Regions from separate parts of the Homo sapiens genome. Here regions 1 and 3 are each linked to region 2. The links are contacts of gene promoters, found by promoter capture Hi-C in human tissues and cell types (Jung and others, 2019). All regions are on one chromosome and are shown on one strand. The core of a region is centred on a gene start or on the middle of the fragment in contact, and the rest is flanking DNA. Distances in the headings are between cores, read along the strand shown.

Evidence for each region. The method cuts DNA at HindIII sites, captures the fragments that hold promoters and counts their contacts. A contact is called where the count stands out against the background at its distance.
Region 1: a fragment that was not itself captured here is called in contact with the fragment with the promoter of SFRP2 in region 2 in 1 of the 25 tissues and cell types used here (mesendoderm cells).
Region 3: a contact is called between a fragment that was not itself captured here and the fragment with the promoter of SFRP2 in region 2, in 2 of the 25 tissues and cell types used here (mesendoderm cells and neural progenitor cells).

Annotation. Positions count from the first base shown.
Region 1 is chr4:153,968,689-153,973,062 of GRCh38, forward strand. The region is part of intron 8 of LOC101927947 (a long non-coding RNA gene); the gene reads left to right. Among named protein-coding and RNA genes, the nearest start is that of SFRP2, 180 kb to the left of the region's middle. The HindIII fragment of the contact is 8,576 bases long and covers 1-4,374 here.
Region 2 is chr4:153,786,845-153,791,157 of GRCh38, forward strand. It overlaps SFRP2 (secreted frizzled related protein 2), which reads right to left and starts at 2,239. Exons shown (of 3, transcript NM_003013.3): 1 at 1,490-2,239. The coding sequence starts at 1,991. RefSeq lists enhancers at 2,383-2,552, 2,467-3,168, 3,169-3,870, 4,132-4,301. The HindIII fragment of the contact is 9,313 bases long and covers 1-4,313 here.
Region 3 is chr4:153,935,445-153,939,541 of GRCh38, forward strand. The region is part of intron 6 of LOC101927947 (a long non-coding RNA gene); the gene reads left to right. Among named protein-coding and RNA genes, the nearest start is that of SFRP2, 150 kb to the left of the region's middle. The HindIII fragment of the contact is 5,944 bases long and covers 1-4,097 here.

The DNA of each region.
Region 1 (4,374 bases), core at 1,274-3,773, 180 kb after region 2:
GTTATGATGGGATTCCTCTCTACATTCTCAAAAGAAAATAAAAATAGATATTTATTTTGGAGTTATAGTAATTGAATGTGACTGCTTTTGGTGAAATTCCAGAATCAGGGAGCTTACTAGGCATTAATGGAGGAGCATAATGAGCCGAGGTCTCAGTCTGATTTTTCATTTTAAATTGGATATGATTGTTTCATCTTGCACTTATGTACCCTGAAAATATCAGATAGCAACAGAGCACAGTCAGAATTCCATGCAAATCTGTTATTCTCATGGCAGGTAGAGTTGCGCAAGTCTCTAGAAGGGAGAGTATCATGGTAGTTAGTGGGGACCCCTGTCTCAAATGTCTCCTTAGTTAGTGTAAGGAGCTATAATCACTCCAGCTCTCTGTACTTCATTGCATGTGTTCACATAGATGAAAATTGTTGGACAAAACAGCCAAACTTGTGGTTGAAGCCTAGTGATTGGAGAGAAAAGACAGAACTAAATAAGAGCTCTCATTTATAAAATGTTGAAAAGAAAATCAGGCTGGGTGCAGTGGTTCATGCCTGTAATCACAAGGCTTTGGGAGGCTGAAGCATGAGGATTGCTTGAGCCTAGGAGTTTGAGGTTGTAGTGAGCTATGATTGCACTACTGCACTCCAGCCTGGGTGACAGAGTGAGATCCTAACTTAAAAAAAAATGAGTACCATCTAGGAATCTGATTCATACAATCATCTAAACCAGAGGATCTCAGCTTGATGTAAGGACACACTGGTGAGTCTCCATTTTTTTGGGATGTGTTGTGAATAACGTGTTCAGATGTATTAGGTATAATAGATAAAGTAATCTAGTTGCAAAATTTCACATGAAAACAATTAGAGCAGATTCAAGGTTATCCCTTTAATATTTTTATTTCTTTCATTTGAAGTCCAGTGTTTTTAAAAGTGAGAGGAAAAGGGGGTTTAATTACAACTAGGGTACAGGGAACTATGTATTACTCTGGGGGTTTCCATGGGACTGAGTCTTGCATATGAACTCATCTTGCCTGGCAGGAAAAAAAAAGTTGAAAACTGCTGAACTAAAAGATCACTTGTGAATCTCATAGCAACCTAGATTGAGCAATCACTAGGGACTCAGTGAGTACTAAAATTGATACATGTATCATTATTTGTCACTGGGGTGATCACACACACACATTCAACTTGCCTTTATATATAAGGTACACATATTCACTGTAAATGAATATTTAGATATTTGGAATATTTAGATATAAAAAGTAAATCATAATCCCAGGTGCAATCATAGTAATCTATCTCTAAGAATTACTCTGATAATTAAATGAGTGAATATAGCTGTCAAATAGTACAGCTGTGCCTGGCCCAGAGCCAGTAAGCACATCTGAGTGTAAACTGGGATCATGATCATGAACTCGGGCAAACATCGTTTTGATTAGCCCTATAGCTGCTCCTCCTCCAGCGTTTCCTAACTCAGTAAGTGGCACTCTCATGTTTTAAAGTTATTCAGGCCGAAACTTCACTCTTTCTATGTCTCTCACTGTGTAACCAGTACATTAGATAATCCTACTGATATTACCTTTAATATATATCCATGCATCATACAAAGATTAATAATTAATTGAAACAATGTCTTATTAATGAAACTTTGGATTGATTTCAAATTTTTCCCATCATAAAAACTGCTGGCGTAAGCATCTTTAGGAACACTCCTAATTACCACAGGATAAGTTGTTGGAAGTGAAGGGTGACCTCAGATATAATTATTTGCAGGCTTTTACTACACTACAGAGTCCCAGATTCTCTTTTAGGGTAGTTGTGCCATATCTGATTCCACCATCAATATAGAGACAACCTTTATTATAAAGCTTGCATTTGCATAGAAAGATTCCAGAGGTGGAGTTTTATTTATTGAGCTTGAATTGCACCAGAAAAGGTCAAGTATACTCAGCAGCATTTCAGATGTTTTGGGGGTGGCAAATATGAAAAAATATGATGGAGATAATTTTGATTTGAAGCATTAATGCACTTTTGGACTGTCGATTTGCAGAACAGTGAAAGGACTGACAGTCCTCAAAGCCAGGCAAGCACAGCAACCACTCTTCTCCCAAATGCAAAAACCCTGTAAGACAAACTATTTCTAAAGCTGATAATTCTGCCCTAACACAGGATGGTTACATCACCTCAAGTTTGAGTAAGGAGGAAAGAGAGATTTTTCCAGGAAATACTGCATGATTTCAAGGATTCTTGAGCAAAGATTGACAGAGAACATTCGTGAAGATGTATATAGGCAGTTCAGTCTTGCTTGCATGACTTTCTCTAAGATATACCAGCCCCCACGATCCAAGTGTTTCCCTTGTAATGTTGGTTAAAATCAGAGATTCCCATGCCAAGTATGAATGAGTTAAAAAATGTGCATTTTTGTGGTGCTTTATCTATTGGTCTTTAATAGACTTTTAACAGAAGTGGGAATAGAAGTGGGAATAGAAGTGGGAATGGAAGTGAATCACCCTGCTGGCCCTAAGGAGGCCTAGTAGCCACCTGGTTTAATACTTATGGTTAGAAATATAGAACTACCCTTGCAGTTTTGTGCAACTTGTGTTCAGAGAGCAGGGCTGGAAAAATTTGATATTCCAGAGGGCCTGCAGTAGGTTCTTCAGAAATTCCTGTGAGCCAGTGTCAGGAGAACAAGGAAGACTGTTACAGGAAAGCTATGAATGTCTGTAGAATTGTACCCTTTTCTCTTATCCCTATTCTATTGCTTGGGGACTTTGGTGTTGTTTTTTTTTCTGAGGATCCGAGGGTCGGGGGTGGTATTAGATCTGTGTTTCCTGGACATAGGGCCATAGCCTCCTCATACTCACACATGCTCGTCCTCTTAAACCTGGCAAGAGACTTTAGATAGGTAACCACCCTGCCACATGGTTAGGGGTAGATACACTTCTCTAGATGTTATTCCATCATCTCTCTAGTCTTAGGAAGCATCTCTGTGAGCAATAAAGTTAACTGACTCCAAATTTTTCTGATTAAGAGCAGAACAGAATCCTGCTAACATCACCATTACTGCAAAGATCTTAGACAAGAAAGAGGAACTTTTGGAAATATTTTGTAATCCACCCTGCTCTTTGTGAATGCTCTACAGTACTTAATCCATACAACAAGTACTTCTTTCTTGGGAATAATTTTAAATTTATTATTGTGGAAGCCCTAGTGATAAGCTGTGTAATTCCGATTCCTGCCCAGAGGTGTTGAATCGGCCAAGGGAAACTACGAGAATGAACCCAATTTCTCAACAATTTCATATGTTGGAGAATTTACTCATCCCATGTTCCAAGTGTTGCCCTAAGAGCCAGCGTGGAGCAGGAGACATGCATTAGCTCCATACCCCCTGCTTCCTGGACTCACAGAGTGGAAACTGGTCTCTCCATGACTCAGGGTGAGGAGGTTGGACTGGGGGCCCTGCTGTTCCCCCTCAGGGTGTCTGATTTTTATCTCCCTGATTTCACAGTTTGTTAATAACATTTTTGAAAGTTCTGTGGGCTCCAAAATTGTTTCCACAGTTTTATTTTATTTTTGGCATTAAAGATTTAATTTTGCTATTTCGTGAGAGTGAAAATGCTCTTGTCCTGTGATTTAAGTGTGTGACATTTCAGTGTTAAGTCCTGGACTGGAGAGCTGTAAATTGACTTTTTCTGGGTCACTTGAAGGTGAACTAAATGGTTCTCTCTTGTTCTGGAGAAAGGGTCTTCCCTTGCAGAAGCTGCATCCAGACAGCCCTTGTACAAGTCACATGCATGGCACCTAGAAAGAGGAAGTTTGGGAGCTTGATTCTACTGGAATCAACCTGTGCTAATGGGCTAATGAACTAGGTGAGACCCCTTCAGAGCCTTGCCTGCTTCAGTCAACAGACTTTGAGCGAGCATTTCCTATGTGCCATGCACAGTGTATGAGGTGCTGGGGGTACAAACAGGGAGAAGACACAGTTTGTGTCTCCCAAAGGCTCAGAGTAGGGAGTTGTAATTGGAGGCTGGGGCCACATTGCAGCTCTGCTGCTTACTCATTGTATAACAAAGTCAGTCACTTGACCTTGGTGAGTCTCAATTTTCTCATATGTAAAATGACTCCACACATCTGAGGTGTGATGAGAATCAGTTGTCAGTTGTCAGATGCCGTCCACAGTCCTCTGAAGTTCACAGTTGGAAATATAAACGAGTGCTTGCAATTATGTTCTTCATCCTTCAGAGACTTAGTCCTTCATCTGTAAAATAATTTCTCTACTCCTCAGGGTCGTGGTGAAGATGAAGCAGAATGATCTCTGAAAATCTTCTCTAATGGTGCTAGCATGCGCTAGTTGCTCAATAAGTATTACTTTTCTACCCTT
Region 2 (4,313 bases), core at 989-3,488:
TCTTGGGAGAAGTAAAAAAAAAAAAAAAAGAACAATTATATTGCCCTTCTCTCATTTATAAATGTGTTAATTATGTCTTTAAAATTTAGGTGAAATGAGATTTTCACTAATGTGAAATTTAATGTTCATAGAAAACTATGTGACTTAATAGAAGCGTTATTTATCAAATTAGAAAAATCACAAAGCTGGAATTTTGAAGAACATAAACTTTTATTTTGAAGGAGAAAAGTGGCTTTTTGGAGAAATGTAAGATGCGTAATGTTGCTGCTGATAGTGGGAAGAAATAAAAGCAACATACATAAAACTGCCCTTAAGTCCCCTCACCCAAACAAAATCAAACATTTCCAATTAGGAGCTCTCAGGATGTATATAAAATATTACTAACCTGTATTGGTTGGTCTATGGTACATGTTGGACAAATGTTTGAAAAATGCCAAACATTTGCAATAAATTAGAAATCTAACCAATAAGATGATTGCAAACTCATGGTCCCTGCCAGGAAAGATTGCTAAAGAACTTTGCATTTGCTTTAACTAATGATGTCTGTAGGAAAACTACTAGAGATTGAAAGGGAGAGGCTGCTGAAGCCCTGAAAGGGATTAGGAAGCTCCCTTTTCCAACCCAGGGGACCCAAATCAGCTCAGAGGCATTGTATATGTTTTCCTTTCAGAAAAAATATTGAGAGCCCATGAGGTTTTCATTGCTTTGATGGTTTTTGCACAGGAACTCTCCCTCCGTTTTCTAAAAACTTGGGAATCTCTTTTGCATGATTTTCTCCAGCTAATCAAAACCACTCCTAAGTTAAAAACTGATAGCAATAGAAAAGTGATTTCCAGAGATTCCCTTTATGCCCTCTTCCTCAAGTATCTGAGCAGTTACAACCAATGTTCAATTTTCCACACACTCCGTGCCAGTCCCGGTTTTATTTCCAAAATCTAAATTGACAAAGGACAAAAAGACCCTTAAAAGGTTATCTACTTGTGCATCCTGGTTTTCCTTTCTGTACAGGAAATGTTCCTGTGACTAGAATCCTGCCCAGTGGTAGGAAGGTGCAGAATGAGGCTGAGCGAGGGGCCTCTGGCCAGAATGCTCACCACAAACTCCTCCACCAAACACCACTTCCAACGCTCTGCGCAGCTCCAGTGCTAGCATCTTTAACAATAATCGTGTATCTATTTTTTTTTAAACCGCCGTTCAGTTCTTCGTTTTTTTAGTTTTGTTGTTTTTGTTTGTTTGTTTTATTTTTAAACTGCCCTTAAGTATAGCTGGTACAACTCGGGAGGAGAATGCGCGAGACTTGGGCGGCGTGGGAGGGGTGCCTCAAATTTGATACAGGCTTGTTGTGATGACAGACCAGGTCAGGCAGAACTTCTGCCCTTCCCGCTACTGGCACCCCAAGCAGGGATGCACTGGGATGCGTGGCAGGGGCGGGATCTCCTGGGAGCGTCTCAGCCCAGCAGGGAGTGGGGAAGCAAGAGGGAAGGCTTACCTTCCTCGGTGGCTGGCAGGAGGTGGTCGCTGCTAGCGAGGGGGATGCAAAGGTCGTTGTCCTGGGGGAAACGGTCGCACTCAAGCATGTCGGGCCAGGGGAAGCCGAAGGCGGACATGACCGGGGCGCAGCGGTCCTTCACCTGCACGCAGAGCGAGTGGCATGGCTGGATGGTCTCGTCTAGGTCATCGAGGCAGACGGGGGCGAAGAGCGAGCACAGGAACTTCTTGGTGTCCGGGTGGCACTGCTTCATGACCAGCGGGATCCAAGCGCCGGCCTGCTCCAGCACCTCCTTCATGGTCTCGTGGCCCAGCAGGTTGGGCAGCCGCATGTTCTGGTATTCGATGCCGTGGCACAGCTGCAGGTTGGCAGGGATGGGCTTGCAATTGCTGCGCTTGTAGGAGAAGTCGGGCTGGCCAAAGAGGAAGAGCCCGCGCGCCGAGCCCAGGCAGCAGTGCGAGGCGAGGAAGAGCAGCAGCAGCGAGCCAGGGCCCTGCAGCATCGTGGGCGCGCGACCCCGAGGGGGCAGAGGGAGCGGAGCCGGGGAAGGGCGAGGCGGCCGGAGTTCGAGCTTGTCCCGGGCCCGCTCTCTTCGCTGGGTGCGACTCGGGGCCCCGAAAAGCTGGCAGCCGGCGGCTGGGGCGCGGAGAAGCGGGACACCGGGAGGACAGCGCGGGCGAGGCGCTGCAAGCCCGCGCGCAGCTCCGGGGGGCTCCGACCCGGGGGAGCAGAATGAGCCGTTGCTGGGGCACAGCCAGAGTTTTCTTGGCCTTTTTTATGCAAATCTGGAGGGTGGGGGGAGCAAGGGAGGAGCCAATGAAGGGTAATCCGAGGAGGGCTGGTCACTACTTTCTGGGTCTGGTTTTGCGTTGAGAATGCCCCTCACGCGCTTGCTGGAAGGGAATTCTGGCTGCGCCCCCTCCCCTAGATGCCGCCGCTCGCCCGCCCTAGGATTTCTTTAAACAACAAACAGAGAAGCCTGGCCGCTGCGCCCCCACAGTGAGCGAGCAGGGCGCGGGCTGCGGGAGTGGGGGGCACGCAGGGCACCCCGCGAGCGGCCTCGCGACCAGGTACTGGCGGGAACGCGCCTAGCCCCGCGTGCCGCCGGGGCCCGGGCTTGTTTTGCCCCAGTCCGAAGTTTCTGCTGGGTTGCCAGGCATGAGTGGGAGAGGGTGTGTGTGTGTGTGTGTGTGTGTGTGTGTGTGTGTGTGTGTGTGTTGGGGGGCTGCGTCCCTGGTAGCCGCGTGTGCCCTGTGATGGAGCCCGGGACCTGCCCGCCCGAGGCCGCCTCGGCGAACTTCGTTTTCCCTCGAATCTCCAGCCACCGTTCAGCAGCCTGTCGGTGTGCTCCCCAATGCCGTAAAAAAATCAGAATTATAAATATATTCGTATGAGCAGAACTTTACATGGAAAACGAAATACTAATAAAATGGGCTTGTTATTCTGTTGGAGTGAGTGCCTAGGAAGGGTTTCGTCGTTGTAGAAACGCCCCTACAAGAGTCTCACCAGTCACACAGGACTGCCCACCATTTCCCCGTTTTGGAGAGATTTTTCCTTCTTAAATGAATGGCATGACTCAATACTCGAAGGCATCACGGGCTCTAACACACAGCCGCCCTTGCAGCTGTGCGCTCTGGAAAGCTGGAGTATGGGCCCCCAGGGCACTGTTTGTAAAGACTGGTGGCCGGCACAAAAGACGGGCACAAAAGATGGGCAGGCTGGGAGGGAGCGAGGTAGAGGAAGGAGTCCTGCCTAGAGATCCACGAGGGCTAGAATTAGCTCATTCATCCCCTACGTACCAGGGGGCACCATGCTGGGCGCTGGATGTGCAGAAATGAACAAACAGGCCGGCCTCTGCTCTCGTGGAGCCTGGGATCTAGTGTCTCTGACTGCAAACAGTAAGTTCTGGGTTGGGGGGTGGGCTCCTTTTGCCTAATTGTCCCTAGTCTCCCTATGGGGACAGGAGGCCTTCGCTCTCCTCAGCCGCTGTCTCCGGGTGGCTGTGAAGATCCAAAGAGATAATCCCCGGAGGGCGAAGTTCTTTCATATGTAAGGTGGGCGCATTGTTATTACTTCCCGACCACTTAAGAGTCATTCACAGGCTCAGACCCCGGCTTCCTAATTTCCCTCCTTCCGGAAGATGCGTTGGCCTTGGCGGCTCCCAGGCCCAAGTTATCAGGCACACTTTGCGGTCCAGCTGCTTAGAGGAGCCGGGTAATGAATGAATGGGTGGCAAAAGCCCACTCAGTGTTATCTGCTGACCGTAAACACGCCAGGAAAATCGTCATCTGGAGAGAATGCACATTCTGAACTCCAAGAATCTGCGTCCCTAAGAGCCCAGCTTCCGGGTGCTCTGCTGGGGAAGGGCCCGGGGTAGCTGCAAAAGGCCTCTCTTTCCCCAAATTGGTTCAGGGCCTTTTCGTCTCTAACGAAAGCACCAAGAGGCCTAAAAGCCCCCTTCCCAACATAAACTACTTTGCAATGAAACCACAAAGGAAACAGAAGCACACCAAAAGAAAGAGCTAATAAAGAGCGTGAGCTCTGAGAGATGCTACGACTTGGGCCTGGGAGTGGGATAAGGGCCCTCTCGCTTTCACGCCCCCCCAACCCCCCGCCGGCCCCGGCCAACCCCTAAATCCCCAACGCCCTCCGCTGGGGTCGCCTCCTCCCCGCAGAGCCCCTTGTTGGGAGTTCAAGGAGCCCGAAGCTGGTCTGGCTGGTTTGAGCCCCGCGCTGCCGCACGCCCGGAAGTGGCTGGCGGCCCCCGCGCTCCGCGCGCCGGCTGCATTGTTTTGGGAGCCCTCGCTGCCCGGCTTGCCGCCAG
Region 3 (4,097 bases), core at 307-2,806, 150 kb after region 2:
CGTAAGGACAGAGAGAAAGGGAACATGACATCATTCACTTGCCATGGCTTGTTTTTTCTGATACCTAGTGAATGAATTGGCATTGTTTCAAACAAGGCCAATAGTTAGTGGGATTGAAAGCCAGGTCCTGTACCATGTTAATATGCATGAAAGGCATTTATTCTGTAGGTGTTAATCTCGTGAAAACCATTGGGCATGCCAATTCTCCCGTCTTCTGCTGTCTACATGATCAGGAAAAAGAGAGCAATTCCCTAGGAAGTAAACTCCATTGAGGCCTCATTAATTAAGAAAGAAGATCATGCATATTTGTAGTAGTTCAATAAGAATTGAGCTAAAGCTTGTGTTTATACTATCTTCTGTGGAAGCTTGTTGAACAAGAAAATAGTGTCCACAAGGTAAAGAAAACATTTATTTTACTTAAAACAACATATTAAGCAGGTCAGAAGCATACTTTCTTTTACAAATAATTGTTAAGATAATTAAAACAATTTTTACATTATCATTACACTATAAAAAACTCAGAGTAATAAAGTCAGATTTTAAAAATGTGTGTAATAACAATCATAAGCCTATGTAAAGGCTTATATAAAGGCTTACATAGATCCATGTAAAGATAAGGTTAACAAATATTTATTTCAATATTCTTCTTTTAGTCTTACAATAATCTAAAGTAGTATGACAGAAACTATTATCCCCATGCACTAGTTGGGTTAGTTAACTGTAGCTGCCATAGCAGGGAAACCCTGATAATGTCAGTGGTTTAACACAACAGAGGTTTCTTTCTCCCTCAGGAAAAGTGTGATGGTAATTGGATGAACCACCTCGATCTTGCAGCTATACCAAATAGAACATCTGACACATGTGGCCTCTGAGGTTGCTTCAGCTGAGGGAGGGCTGGAGGAGATACACTGGTTTGTACCTTCCTTGACCTGTAGAGATTCAAGTCGTGTGCTTTCAGATTTCACCAGCTCGAGTTAGTCACATGGTCTCACCCTGACTGCAGGGAGGTGGAGTGGTATATCTGGAAAGCATTGTCCTTCTCTGTCAAACACAATTTTACAAATAAGAGAACTCTGAATAATCAGTAATGTGTGCAAATTCACACAGATATCAAATGGAGAAGCTGGATTTTTCAAAGGTCTTTTAACCCCAGTTCCAATGAACATATACAATAGTGTCTCTCTACATAATCTAATAATAGTATCTCTCTATGTAATCTAATAATGTCTAATAATAGTTTACTAAATCAAATAGACTCTCATTTAATCCCGAGGACATTGAGACAGTTGTGTTTGTGCACATTTAGGAGAAAATATAAGGAGAACCCTGATTATTCCTGTTATAAGTATTATGTGGAATTCTAATTTAATGATAACACTTAGTACTTCATAGGCTTGTTATGTTTCCTATTCTCCCAATGTAACCAGATCTGTGATGGGGCAGTGTGGTGGAGTGGAAAGACCATGGCTTTGGTACCAGATAGATCTCTATTCACATTCCTGTAACAACACTTACCAGTGGTGTAATGTTTTGAGCAAGTTATTTAACTTCTATTATTTTCATTCTCTTCATTTATGTAATAGAGACAACAATATCATGTAGGCTTTTTAAATGTATAAACAAGTTAATATTTATAAAGTCCCTGGAAATAGTAGGTAATGTTATTTTTTAATTTCCCTTAAAAAGCAGCATGTTCAAGTTCATAAAGCAAGATATCTTAGAATTAGATGATGAAATACAAAATCAGACTTCATGCAAAGAAATTTCATCAAATTAAAAAATATATATAAGCACAAATACTTATCCAGTGGAAAAAACTGCCCAAACCAGCAATAAAAAAGCAATGTGAATTGAGGAAGAAATCCAGATATATAGCCACTGGCTGGGTTTGCGAGGTTAGATTGATGAAATACAGGCTGATCTATATTTCTTGGAGTTGATGAGTGTAGGTTTTGATGGACCATCTGATAGTATTTGCTCTGCACAGCCCCTGTTTTCATGTGGTTGATTATCTGTATTACACAGGAAGAAACAACGGGATGATAAAGTCTAACTGCAACAGTAAGTTTCCATGTGCGAGTCTGAAGTTGCTGTCAGTTAGTGTAACCAGAAGATGCTCTGGGAAACATCAGGGCTGGGCTGGGGAAGGGTGGCCGTGGAGCACTGGGTGTGTTTCATTTGGAGGTCATCACCAATGCCCCCTGTGTCCTGAAGCCATTATCATGTGAGGATAAATATCTTCTGGTTTTCTTGAGCAATAAAAACAGTGCTAGATTTTAAGCATATAGTGGTAGAATATACTCATAGCTGTATGGAAAATGTATATGTTGACATGTGGAATCCAGCAGAGAGATACATATACTGTCAGATTTCCCTGAGCTGAACATTCTCAAAGTCCAGGTCTTAAGTTTAATCCAAGATCCTATTGGGAAGGGGTTTTAACTTCTTCCTTTGGAGAGTGGTGTGGTCACCTTGGCTTGTTTTGTTGTAAAGTGAACAGTGAAAATAGAATTATGAGAATTGCATAGAAGTTAAAATTTGGCATCTTCCAGAATTACTTTTTATAGAAATTACCAAAAGCAGATAGAAAATAGCCAAGATTCTTTGGGCAAATTATTCCAGGGTCTTATGATGCTTCTTATTAGAGTAGTCTGGATGTGATAGTCAACGAGTCTTCCTCGGTGAAGTGTGGTATGAACTGGAGGTAAACTGGTTACTATAAATCAGAGTGGGTATATATTTAATAGAAATAAAAGCAATATCTTGAAGAGGTATATCCACTCACGTGTTCATTGCAGAATTATTCACAACAGCCAAAATATGGAATCAACCTGTGTCCATTGAAGGTTGATTGGATAAAGAAAATGTGGCATATATACACAATGTAATATTATTCAGCCATAAAAAAGAAGGAAATCCTGTCATTTGTGACAACATGTATGAACCTGGAGGACATTATGTTAAGTGGAATAAGCTGGGCACATAACAACAAATGCCATGTGATCTCACTTATATGTGAAATCTAAAAAAGAGAGACTCAAAGAAATAGAAAGTAAAATGGTGGTTGGTGGATTTAGGCTGAGGAAAATGGGGAAATGTTGGTCAAAGTCATAGTTATTCAGGATGAGTAAGTTCTAGAGAGCTAATGTTCAGCATGGCGACTGTAGTTAATAATACTGTATTGTATACTTGCAATTTGCTAAAAGAGTAGATCTTTAATGTTCTCAGCACAACAAAAAAGAAAATAGCTATGTGAGGTGATGGATATATCACTTAGCTTGATTGTGGTGCTCATTTCACAGTATATATATATATATATATATATATATATATATATATATATATATGTAGTTATACACTGTAAACATACACAATTTTTATGTATAATTATACCTCAATAAAGCTAGAAAAAAAAAGAAATCAATTACTGCTCTCTGTTCACAGACCTTCCTCTTAAGGTTTTTAAAACCAATTTTTAAAAGTTTTGATTTTTATTAAAGATCTAACCTGAGCTTTCCAGATAGATGGGAAAATAACCTTTTGTGAGTTAAGGTGGAATGTTTGTTTTGTTTTATTTTTGTTTCATAACATTTGCCCCCTAAAATATCCACTGACAGTCACATTTTCATTTTGCTTTTTAGTTGATTGAGCTACAGTGTTTTAAGCTCTGGGGACACAGATATAAACAGGAGAGGTCTCTGCTGTCATGGAGCTCATGCCATAGCACTCGGTCTAACATGCGGTGCGTGAGCTGCCAGCTCATCCATTATTCATTAACATCATTGAGCATTTGTACATGATGGGTGGTTTTCCATGTTCAATTCATTCTTTTTTACCCACCCATCCATTTGTTTATTAATCGAGGGCCCAGAACTTACCTAGGACTTCTGAATAAATGCCTTCTACAATCACCAAAGAAAGAGATCACAGCCTTCCCAAGATTTCAGTGTTCCGTGGAATAATTTTTTATCTGTGGTTCCAACTTAGTGATGTCGGAACCTGGAGGTGATGAAGGCTTACTGACAATAACAAAATCCATTGTTCTGAGGATCATGCTATTATGAGGAGTTTAAAATTTGGAAAATAGCTTTACAGAA